Linked DNA regions of Homo sapiens: region 1 is linked to region 2. Evidence: promoter capture Hi-C in human tissues and cell types (Jung and others, 2019). All regions are on one chromosome and are shown on one strand. Each heading gives the region's core, a stretch centred on a gene start or on the middle of the fragment in contact. The rest is flanking DNA. Distances are from core to core; before and after follow the strand shown.

Region 1 (5,887 bases), core at 3,127-5,626, 34 kb before region 2:
GGCTAATACACACTTACAGTCTTGAAGTACAGAAAGTTTTGAATTCAAGATTTTTGTAGTCATCTAAAGCAGGGGTCTTCAACCCCAGGCCACAGACCAATACTGGTTTATGGCCTGTTAGGAAACAGGCCACAGAGCAGTAGGTGAGTGACAGCAAGCGAAGCTTCATCTGTATTTACAGCCACTGCCCATCACTTGCATTACTGCCTGAGCTTCACCTCCTGTTAGATCAGCAGCGGCATTAGATTATCATAGAAGCACAAACCCTATTGCGAGCTGCATATGTGAGAGATCTAGGTTGTGTGCTCCTTATGAAAATCTAATGCCTGATGACCTGTCACTGTCTCCCATCACCCCCAGATGGGGCCATCTAGTTGCGGGAAAAGAAGCTCAGGGCTCCCACTGATTCTGCATTATGGTGAGTTTTATAGTTATTTCATTATATATTACAATGTAATATTAAAAAAAAGGGCACAATAAATGTAATGCCGTTGAATCTTCCCAAAACCATCCATCCCCAACCCCGGTTTCTAGAAAAATTATCTTCCGGGAAACTGGTCTCTGGTGGCCAAAAAGGTTGGGGACCACTGACCTTAAAGTGACCACTGACCTTCATATGTGAAGGCAATGGAAATATATACCTAGATATGCATTCGCTCAAAATATTAAGTTTATTAAAACAAAACTAGTATTAAATAATTGTTCAAGAAACTGAATTAGAAAAAAAATTACAAATATATCCTGCTATATAAGGACTCATATAAATCACTGAAACAAAAGTTAGCAAAGTAATAATTCTACAGTATAAGGCAAATGATTTAAAATATTGGAATAAAAACCAAATGTGTGGTTTAAAAAAACCAAATGTGTGGAATAAAAACCAAATGTATACATATACACATACACACACAAACACATATTACATATGTATAATACATACATATATAAATATAATACATACATATATGTATAACATATGCATATATATACAAACCATGTATATGTGTGCGCACACATACATACACACACATTTGTTTTTATTCCAATATTTTTAATTATTTAATCACACATATATATGTATAATATGTACATACATACAAACCATATATATGTGTGCGTATATATATATACGTATATACATACAAACCATATGTGAGTATATATGTATATATGTATACATATATACACACAAAACGTGTGTATATATACACACACATATATACATACATATTGTAAATTTTGTTACATATATAAAAAAATTATACGTAACAAAATTTTTTAAATAGTAGTAATTTGACACTAAGACTCTACATAATATTACCAAAGATCTGAAAATGAGTGTGAAATAAACAAATGCTAATTTGAAAAAAAAATAACATTTTGGTCTTGGCTTTGATAATTTCCAGAAAAACATGGAATGATAAAATACAGTTTTTCAAAGTAAAACTAAGAAGCAATTAAATTTAAAAATATGTATTGATAGATACTCTCGCAATCAATATTTTGAGAAAGTTGAAAAATATGTGGGAGAAAATATTGAAACATAAGGGAAGTAAAAATAATAAAACCACAAAAAAAGAGAAGAGAAAATATGAGAGAATTAAACTACCAATTTAAAAGCAGAGACTGGAAGATCAAAATAAATAAATAAATAAATTCTAATTATAAAATACTTAAAGGGGATTGATCTGAATAAAATGGCACAGATAGTTTAAAATGATGACAAATTCTTTTAGGCAAACTAAAACAGAAGAAATAGGAAGCAGCCATATTAGTTTCAGATAAACTAGAATTACAAGCAAAGTGTACTGAACAGAACAGAGAAAAATAGTTTAGTTATGTATAAAATTCAAAATATGTTTAAAAACCAACAGAATTTGATTCAAACATGATAGGTGCAAAAAATGCAAATACAGCTACAAATCAGGTAGATTTATTTTAAAAAATAAGAACAAAAATAAATGAATAATATAATGAATATGGGAAATAAATACAAATAAAAAACGAGTGCATTTTGTGTGCATGTGTGTGTATATCTTGGCCCTTTTCAACAAAGAAAATGATCTTCAGTTATCCAAACAACTCAAAAACTGAAAAGCTTAGAAAATTCCCAAAATATAGACATTCTAAGACCATATTATTGGGGCAAAATGCAATAAAATTAGAAATTTGTAAGACAATTTGAAATAACAACAAAAGCAACAAACATCTAGCACTTCAGATTTTAAAAATTAAAATTATTATACAAAAAAGAACAACCCAAACTATAATTTTCAACCAATATTAATATTTGTGTTGAACATTTGATTTTGCTATCATCACAGTACTGTACACTTATAAACATATCTCATTTAATCTTACAAAGCACTATAATGTAAATATACTCACTCTAAATTACAAATACAGAAGTGTAGTGAGTTAAAGTCCCTCTCACAACATGTGTGAAACTGTCAGAATTCAAACCTAAGCTCCTTGATTCTAAACCCGTGCTCTTTTTCACCTGGTCTTAGCCAAAAGACTGAAAAGCAGCAAGCCTGTGCTCCCTTAATGTTAACCAGGCTATATTTTAAACATTTAGATGAGACTAAAGCAGTTGTCAGAAACAAATTCATAGCTATAAATGTTCCCAATATTAAAGAAGAAGTATCAAAATTTTATAATGCAGAAGAAACTAAGCTTTAAACTCAAGAAATTATTTTAAAAAGGGAAACAAAAACCTCTACAGAATTAAAAAGAAGTAACTACAAAAGTAAGATAAGTAATAAATTATAAAAATCAAAAGCCACAAAACTCTGGCAAAAAAGCATGAGAAAAACATTTAATATTGGGAAAAAGAAAGGAAAGATAAATTTGGAGAATAATTATTTTAACAGAATCATATGCACAATTATTTGATAAATACTACAAGCATTTTTCTTAAATAGATAATGGTAGCCATCTATAATTTAACAAAATTAATGAGTAGAGATATAGAAAATGTGAATAGGCAAGTGACTTAGAAAAATGTTATAATAATTTTTAAAACTGTTGTAAAAAATGATTTGAGCTTTTTACCAGAAGTTTTCCAGGAAGGGCCATTCAAACATTTAGAGAATTGATCATCGTTCTATGTAAAATTTTCAACAGTATAAGGATGAAGGGGAAGCTACCAATTGGTTTTATATAATCAAGTGATTATGAAATAAATTTCAGCCAAAGATAACTCAAAAATTAAAAAAACAAACTTTTAACTCAGTTTCACTTGCAAATGTAGATGCAAAATGCTTTAGTAAAATGGTAGCAAATGGAATTCAATAGTACATTAAAAGAGTAACATATCATGACAATTAAAGCCATTGGATTTAGAAATGTATTAGTATCAGGAAAACAAATAACATGTCACTTCACATAGTCTGAATAAGAAAATATATATATATGATAATTCCAATACAAGAAAAATAAAACATTTGATAAAGGTCATCTCCTTAATATCATGTACAACACCTACTTTAAACCAAACCCCAAGGCCATATTACTGTTAAAACACTAGTAGAGTTATTAAAACATCACAAGAATGACTGTTTCAGCATTATTAATTAACATTATAAAACATTTAGCCAATTAAAGATATAAATAAAAATGAGAAATATTGTAAAACAGAAGGCGTATTATTTAAGAATAATATGCTGATACACCAACTTTAGAAATCCAATAAATTTAAATTTTAGAAAATTGCAGTCTTAAATGCTAGATTTGCCTGTTACTAAAATTCATTCTGTACATAATTAAAATTCACAAACAAATATTTTACTTATACTTCTATCATTTCTAATCAGCTTTTTAAAAGAGAAATCTTTTAATACTTATTTTCATCCTAGTAGTTTACATTGTGACACCAGCTCTAACAATATCCACAAAAATAACAAATACTTGGATGCTGAGGTGTGAATTTTGTTCCCATTTTTGAAAGCAGGAAGAGTAAGACTTCCTTTTGAAGGAGATTTGCACATACACTATAGAAGACACCCATTTAGTTCTTGGGAAGATGGAGTTGGAAGTGTCCGCTGCTTGTGAACAGCTCAACAGCATGGAGTCCTCCAGGTTGGTGCATCTCTAAACTTGACCCACCTGGAGATCCATGGTGTCGAACAATGAACTTTCCAAACCAGCAAGGCCTCCATAAAGTGAAGGGAGATCCTCTTCACCACCGTTGGTTGAAGAATAAAAAACCTACACCTACACTAGCCCAAATGAGTTTCTGTTGTTTGTCTTCTGTGTCAGAATTTCATTCATTCATTTCCCATCTCTGGCCTATTGTTTAAAGTTGCTGGCCATAATGTATACTTTCCAGACTCCAGGTTAATCCCAGGCTGAGAAGCTTTGTTTGTTTGATAATGAAAAACTGAACAAGGAAACAAGCAAAAACTTGCAAATAATGTGTACCTTATCATAAACATCCAAAGAGTACAAAATTCTGTGCTCTGCAGTTGCTGTATAACAAACATATTAAATTGTACTTGATTGAGCAAATATTTACATCTTACTGTGGAATTTCAAAGTTTAATGTCTACACGTCTTATTAAGGTTGTTATCTATTATTGTATGGTGGAGAAAGGATATCTAGCTGATAGTCATGTTTAAAAACTGACCTGGGTTTGGGACTGCAACCAAATTCTAAGGGCCTAGCTGTTTATGATTTGCCCATTCCATTCAGGGTCGTCCTAATCCCTTCTCAATCTAAGATGCTTCATTCTCACTATAGTTTGCTCGAGAAAGAAAGTGGCTGCTTATGGTATGAGTTCATAAGAGTCATCTAGGATTGTGTTTAATACCCTATCCCACCAGCTTCTAATTTTTACGTGCATTTAATTGGGGCTATATTTGTTAGTTTTCAATTAGAAAGAGACAGATAAAAAGTAAACTGCACACATTATCAGAGGATGCTATAGCTTACCTTCTCACTTATTATGAATTTGCCACCTAAATTCAAACTCTTCTGAAATTTATACCAATTATTAATTCTGAAAGCAATTCTGATTATCTTAATAACTAGCAACTGACTGCAAACATAGAAGGATAGCTAGGTGGATAGATGGATGGATGGATGGATGGATGGATGGATGGATGGATGGATAGATAGATCGATAGATAGATAGATGAGTTTAAAAGGAAGATCACAGAATCAATGTTAGTAGTTAACAATTATTTTTATATTTTGTTTTGAGAGTAGGCTTTGATGGAGCCTAATGAAAGCCATAGAAGAAGCTAAGGGGAGGCTGGACTGTTATAAACAACCCTTCACTTATCTAATACAATTTAACTAAGCTTATCATTTTTTTTTATAGAAAGAGAAATTGATCAGAATCTACTGACAGTTCTTCCTGTCTGGCTGTGTAATGGATTAGCATAGAGACGAGCAGCACACCTCTGTCAGAAAACCTAAATTTAAGTCACATCTCGGGGCTCTAACAATTTACCACCAACAGCGTCTTTGGAGGTCAGCCCCTGAGTCCATGATTCCCCTGTATTATTGGGAAAGAATTAAGAGGTTTTGTGAGTTATGCATGAGATGTGTGTGCAAGTTCTTTGTAAGCTGTAAATCTTACACATTTATGAAATTATCAATGTTGTTATTTTGTAAATGCAACTGATCAAGAGGCTAGGTTCTTACAACAAATGGATCAAAAAGCGTCTGTATGTTCTCAAAAAATAACAATGGAAATGGGGGAAAAAAATGACATCAGGGAATGGCCAAACTGGGTTGCTTAGGGTCCAAAGATCATTGCTATTCAAATCACTGCACTACAAGATCGGGTGAGATCTGCTAATCTGTTTGGGTCACTATAGGTCAGGGCACAGCACATTATAGATGCTAAATAAATGTGTTTTGTATGAATAAATACACATT
Region 2 (5,438 bases), core at 1,933-4,432:
GTTGGCACAAAATTCTTCCATTCGTTTGACAAGTCTCAAAAGTCCACTTTCTGAACTGCAGCCGAATACAGTTCCCAGCTTAAAATTGTCTCTTGGCCAAGTCAATTGTTCTTACTCCTGTGATCATCAGTGCCTTTATTATTAGCTCCCCAACAATGGCACAGGTATGCCTGTTTGTGGCTTCTGTTTAAAAATACCATCATCTCTTTTTTTCTTATCAATGAAAATGCATATATTTCCTATCATATGGTTGCGCATATTTACCGATTGCTCACAAAGTGCAATGCGCGGCCTTTGCCGCACAATCCCGAGTTCCTTACTCTGGAGTTTATTAAAAGCTTCATTTTGAGAGCCCTCTCATTGGGAGACGCCAGGATTGCCAGAAGCGAACAGAAGCGCTGGCGCATCCCAGCACCAGGCATCGAACTTCCCTGGGCAGCATGGAGAAAAGCTGCCGCCCGCGGGTGGGCTCCTGGCGGGGACGCCCAGCGGCGGGGCGGGGCGAGACGCGGGCGGCCTGCAGCGCTGCAGCCGCAGGAGCCCTCAGGGCTCCGCACAGCCCGGCCCGTTTTCCCCAGAGACTCCCTCCCCTCATGCCTAACCCCAATTCCAGTTTTCCTCAGGCCTTTCGGGTTGCCCCAGGGTTTCTCTCTGGAGTCTAGGCTGACTTCCCCTCTCCACCCGCAGAGCCCTGCGTGGGCCATGGCCATGACCCTGGCGGTGGCTGCAGGCGTCCCGGGCTGTGGAGCAGGGGCTGCGCGCCGGACCGCTGGAGGGTGTGTGGCACAGCGTGGGGACTGGTCGCTGTGTGCTTGTGTCGCTGGCTGCGTGTACTAGGGGATGGGCAAATCACACGGCTGCCGCATACCCACTGCCACCCAGCGCTAAGAAAAGAGCAGGAAAAGCAAAACAAACAAAAAAGAAAAGAAGACAGGGAAATAGAAAGTCGATGTGGGGGATTCCGGAGCTTGAGGAGTGGGAGGCGCCGCGCTCTTCTTGGCTCGCGGCGCCTGGGCTGGCAGACTTGGAGCCCTGGGTGGCCGCAGTCACAGACGTGCTGTGGCGGTGAACTGACTTAAAGACGCGGGAGGGCGGCCTGGGTGAAATGTCCACCGACAGTTCTGCTGGCTTTACGCGTTTACCTCCAATTCTCTGTTCTCCTCCAGCCTCTCTGCCCCTGGCGAACCTCCCTGCTGGTATTTCCGTACATGCAAGAGCCTTGGCATCATCGCCAGGGACTGGCGGGTCGGTGGACTCAGCCTGGGACAATTCTGTATCTCAGGGCAGCCTCGAGGACGGCAATGGGCAGGAAGATAGAGAAAGGGATGCGGATGCTGGAGGCGGACGGAGGCAAAGGGTGTGCCGCCGTGTGTGTCAATAATTCTGGGGAATTTTCACCTCTCCCAGATGAGTCTCTACTTACCCCGTGAGGGGCCCCAGGGGCGCCGGGCAGCGCGCACAGGTGGAATTTCTGCGCGTCTACCGGCACCAGGCATGGACCGCACCTGTCCGTGTCCGAGAGCTACAAGTTAGCGGCGATTGCCTGGGACCTCAGGTGCGGACTCCAAGGGACATTGCGGGCGGGGAGGGGTGCAGCGGTCCCCAGTCTACGACCCCGGGGACTGCCCGGGCGGTTCAGGACCCATTGTGAGTTAGGTGGCGAAGCCCAGGCACTGTCTGGTACCTCATGAGCTTCGGGCTGAGACCTTGTCCCCCAGCCACGGCGGACAGTCCAGCTCCTGCGCGGGGCTCAAATAGGATGGGATTGCAGAATGCTTCCCTCTCCTTTGTCTTGGGACCCTTTCCCCCATTCTAATTGCTTCTCCTCCTTGGCCATGACCTGGAGACCGCAATGGGAAACCTCTCCAGCGCCCAAGGGCTGCTCCGAAAGCGGAGCCGGGGGACAGCTCGGAGCCCGAGCGAGCCGGGCCTCCATCCCACACGCACAGAAGACGCGGTCAGACCCCAGCAGGAAGGAACCCGAGGGGCGGGAGGGACGAAGCTCTCCTTGTCTTGTCCATGGCTGCATCTGGAGTGGGTGGCGGGAGGGGGGTCAGCAACAGTAGAGGGAATGGGGGGCTGGAATAGGGAGCGACGCCGGGACAGCGCAGCTCCCAGGCTGCTTTCGCCACATTCGGCTGGACTCAGTGACCGTCGGAATCGTAGGGGTACCTCGCCTCGCGCTGTGCCTCGTTTGCCCCTTCCTTTCAGACCCGCCATCACTGCTCGCAACCCTCCAAGCCCCAGGATCCAAAGTTTCCGTTTGAGAATCTGCACGTGGGGAGGACCTCCCTCCAATTCCCCCAAGCCCCGACCCCTGAGCCTCCGGCTTGGGGGGATATGAAGGGAGAGACCCCCTGGTGCCAGGGCCCTTGGAGTGGGTAAGCGGAGAGCTGCACAGCGCGGGGCCCTTACCTGTCGCTGGTTTCGCTCCAGTTGCCTCCCCGGCTGCGAGGTGGTGGAGGCTTGAAGGAGCGAGGAGTCCTTTGTGGGTTCAGGGCCGATCCGCTCGGGCTGGAGCTGCGCACCGCTTAGAGTCCGAGGCCAGCTGCCGGTTCTCTTTCTCCCTTGATCTTGCAAAAGAAAAGGAAAAGATTAGTTGATGCCGAGACACTGTAGGGGTGGGGCGGGAGAGGCGGGAGAGGCGGGAGAGAACCGACCCCAAGGCTCTGGCGAGAGCTGCGGGGCTGGCGCGCGCGCAGGCAGAGTCACGCACCCCACACTCGTCTCAGCCACTTGGCTAGTCTGTGACCTGTTCGTGGTTTAGACTGGAGTTAAATTGACGCTGCCCCCGCCCTCCACGCCAAACCACTAAAGGAGAAGCAAACAAGACTTTCAAACCTGGCTTTCACGAAGAGCCTGGAGACCAAAATAGAATGGAGACCTGGATGCCTCGGCGAGCTGGGCTGGATTCATTTCTTCACCAAAGTGCTTGGGGAAGTAGGAATTAGTTTTGGGAGGCAACACCTATTCGGGTACCTCGGCGATTTCCTGGTGAAATCTGCGATTTCCAGGCTCTGGCCAACCCGCAGCCTGGAGTGTGTGAGTGTGTGTGTGTCTGTGTGTGTGTGTGTGTGTGTGTGTGTGCCCGCGCGCGCTCCCTAGGTCTTTGCGCCCTGGCGCCTTTAGTACAGCAGGAGAGCGTGTCTGTATTCGTGCGTGTGTGTTCGATTAGCTGCAATGGGCGGACAATTTCTGGAGAGAACATTTACAATTTTCTTTCAGTATGACAGGATTAGTTGCTGTTGAAGGCGCTCCTCCAATGAAATCTTCTGTGCTCTCTGATTTGGCGGTTCTTCTGAGCAAATATGACAGCCGTTTCTCCAGGCTCTTTTTCGCTTCTCTCCATTTCCATCCCCAGAGCCCAGCTCTCCATCTGCAATTTCTACATCAGAACCACCCCCAACCCCGAGTCCCTTCCCTGCAAGTGTGTGAGTGCTACAAAGGTGACATGGCATATTGGGAAGAACGCAGTATTGCTTTTTGTTTGTCGGAGATACTTAAGCCCAGTTTTTCCAGGTGGGAAAATGTTAGACTAAATCCACTATGCTTTGTAAATATATAATTGTGCTGAACTATTCACAGATTGTTTATTTCTTTGGAGCTTTGACAAATGTATCCGAAGGAGAAGTAATTTTTTTCTCTTACTTTAAATATGAGCCAGTGACCATGTTTTCTTCAGCTAATGGGCAGTAGACTACAGAATATATCTATATCTATATCTGTATCTATATCTATATTCAGAATATGTGTATATCCAGAATATATATATCTAGAATATATATATATATGTCCAGGATATATATATCCAGAATATATAGATATATATATCCAGAATATATATATATATATCCAGAATATATATATATATATCCAGAATATATATATATATCCAGAATATATATATATCCAGAATATATATATATATATATGTCCAGGATATATATATCCAGAATATATATATATATATATATATATATATATATATGTCCAGGATATATATATCCAGAATATATATATATATATCCAGAATATATATATATATATATGTCCAGGATATATATATCCAGAATATATATATATATGTCCAGGATATATATATCCAGAATATATATATGTCCAGAATATATATATATCCAGAAAATATATATATATCCAGAAAATATATATATATATCTCAAAAATATATATATATATATCTCTCTCAAAAAAAAAAATATATATATATATATATATCTCCAGAATATATATATGTTTGATGCTTCAGGGAATTTGTGATCTCCATGAAAAAAGATTTAGGATGCAAACTTTCTGTGTTCAGACCTGCCTTTGATGTTTATTTCTTTATTTTAATGAGAAATTTCTGCCAATAATTGTATCTATTATTTTTAGATACTAACCTCATTTGATAAAAGTACAATGATAGGATTCTAAAGTGTAGCTTAGGCCAAAACTTGCTTTTGTAAAAGCATATGTGTATGTGAATATAACATCAATATATTATATATTACATAGGCTTTATTTTCTCTCATCCAACTTCAATCAAATAAAGAGCAAGAAGTGGAAACCTTAAATTGAATAGCCCAGAATTGGACACATCACTTTTTGGGTCACAGGGATAGACAAAGAGCAAGTTAAAGATACATTGATATAATATAATATAGTCAATTAAATTCAGTTCAGTTCTTGACGTCCAGGGTTTTGCTAGGTATTAAAGGCCATCCACAAGAGCAAAAACCACTGTCCCTGTGTTTTTATAAGCTTCTATTCCTATTGACAAGAAAAGACACTTCATTTGAAACATCTATGTAACAGTTGACAATCCAATGATTAATTTTATAGCAATGTAAATTTATTGATAAATGGAAATGCTGTAGCTGAAAGTTTCTGCCCTTTTTGTTAACTCATAGCTATCACCAAGCAGGACTTGACACAAAGTTGATTTTGCTTGATTGAAGTCATCCTAAAATGCAGCATTACAATACTGTGTCTCTGCCTTCAACCTCCATACTTACATCCCACCATCACTGGGTGATTATAAGATACCTGTGAGAAAATCAAAACAGCCCTGCTAAGTCTTGTTCTCAGCCTCTCCCAGCATTTGTTCCACTACATTAAATATCTGATTTTGTCATCTCTCCTCTCTTAGACACTCTTTTCAGAATGAATTCACATTTTCCTTTTTTACTCCATTATTTCTGTCTACTGAGCCTCCATAAACCCATGAAGCTGCTTGAGTCTTTTGGAACACACACACAGACACACACCCATCAAAGCAAAAAAGTGAGGAGAAATAGATCCCTGGCCAGCAATAGACAGGAAAACCCAGTGATTTGTTACTTTTTTGTTCCTTTACATCATTAAGAACACTAAGCCCCCTTTTACTAATAAAGCTGCACATTCCAAAATGAGCAACCAAATAAATAACCAATGAAGGC

The links. The method cuts DNA at HindIII sites, captures the fragments that hold promoters and counts their contacts. A contact is called where the count stands out against the background at its distance.
Region 1: a contact is called between a fragment that was not itself captured here and the fragment with the promoter of CHRM2 in region 2, in 1 of the 25 tissues and cell types used here (pancreas).

The regions. Positions count from the first base shown.
Region 1 is chr7:136,901,439-136,907,325 of GRCh38, reverse strand. All of the region lies in intron 2 of CHRM2 (cholinergic receptor muscarinic 2), which reads right to left. MIR490 (microRNA 490) reads right to left here and starts at 4,159; the gene lies at 4,032-4,159. LOC349160 (a long non-coding RNA gene) reads left to right here. Exons shown (of 4, transcript NR_046103.1): 3 at 5,325-5,476. The HindIII fragment of the contact is 3,977 bases long and covers 2,388-5,887 here.
Region 2 is chr7:136,866,396-136,871,833 of GRCh38, reverse strand. It overlaps CHRM2 (cholinergic receptor muscarinic 2), which reads right to left and starts at 3,182. Exons shown (of 4, transcript NM_001006630.2): 1 at 2,842-3,182; 2 at 2,416-2,573. RefSeq lists an enhancer at 1,741-2,503. The HindIII fragment of the contact is 6,446 bases long and covers 1-5,438 here.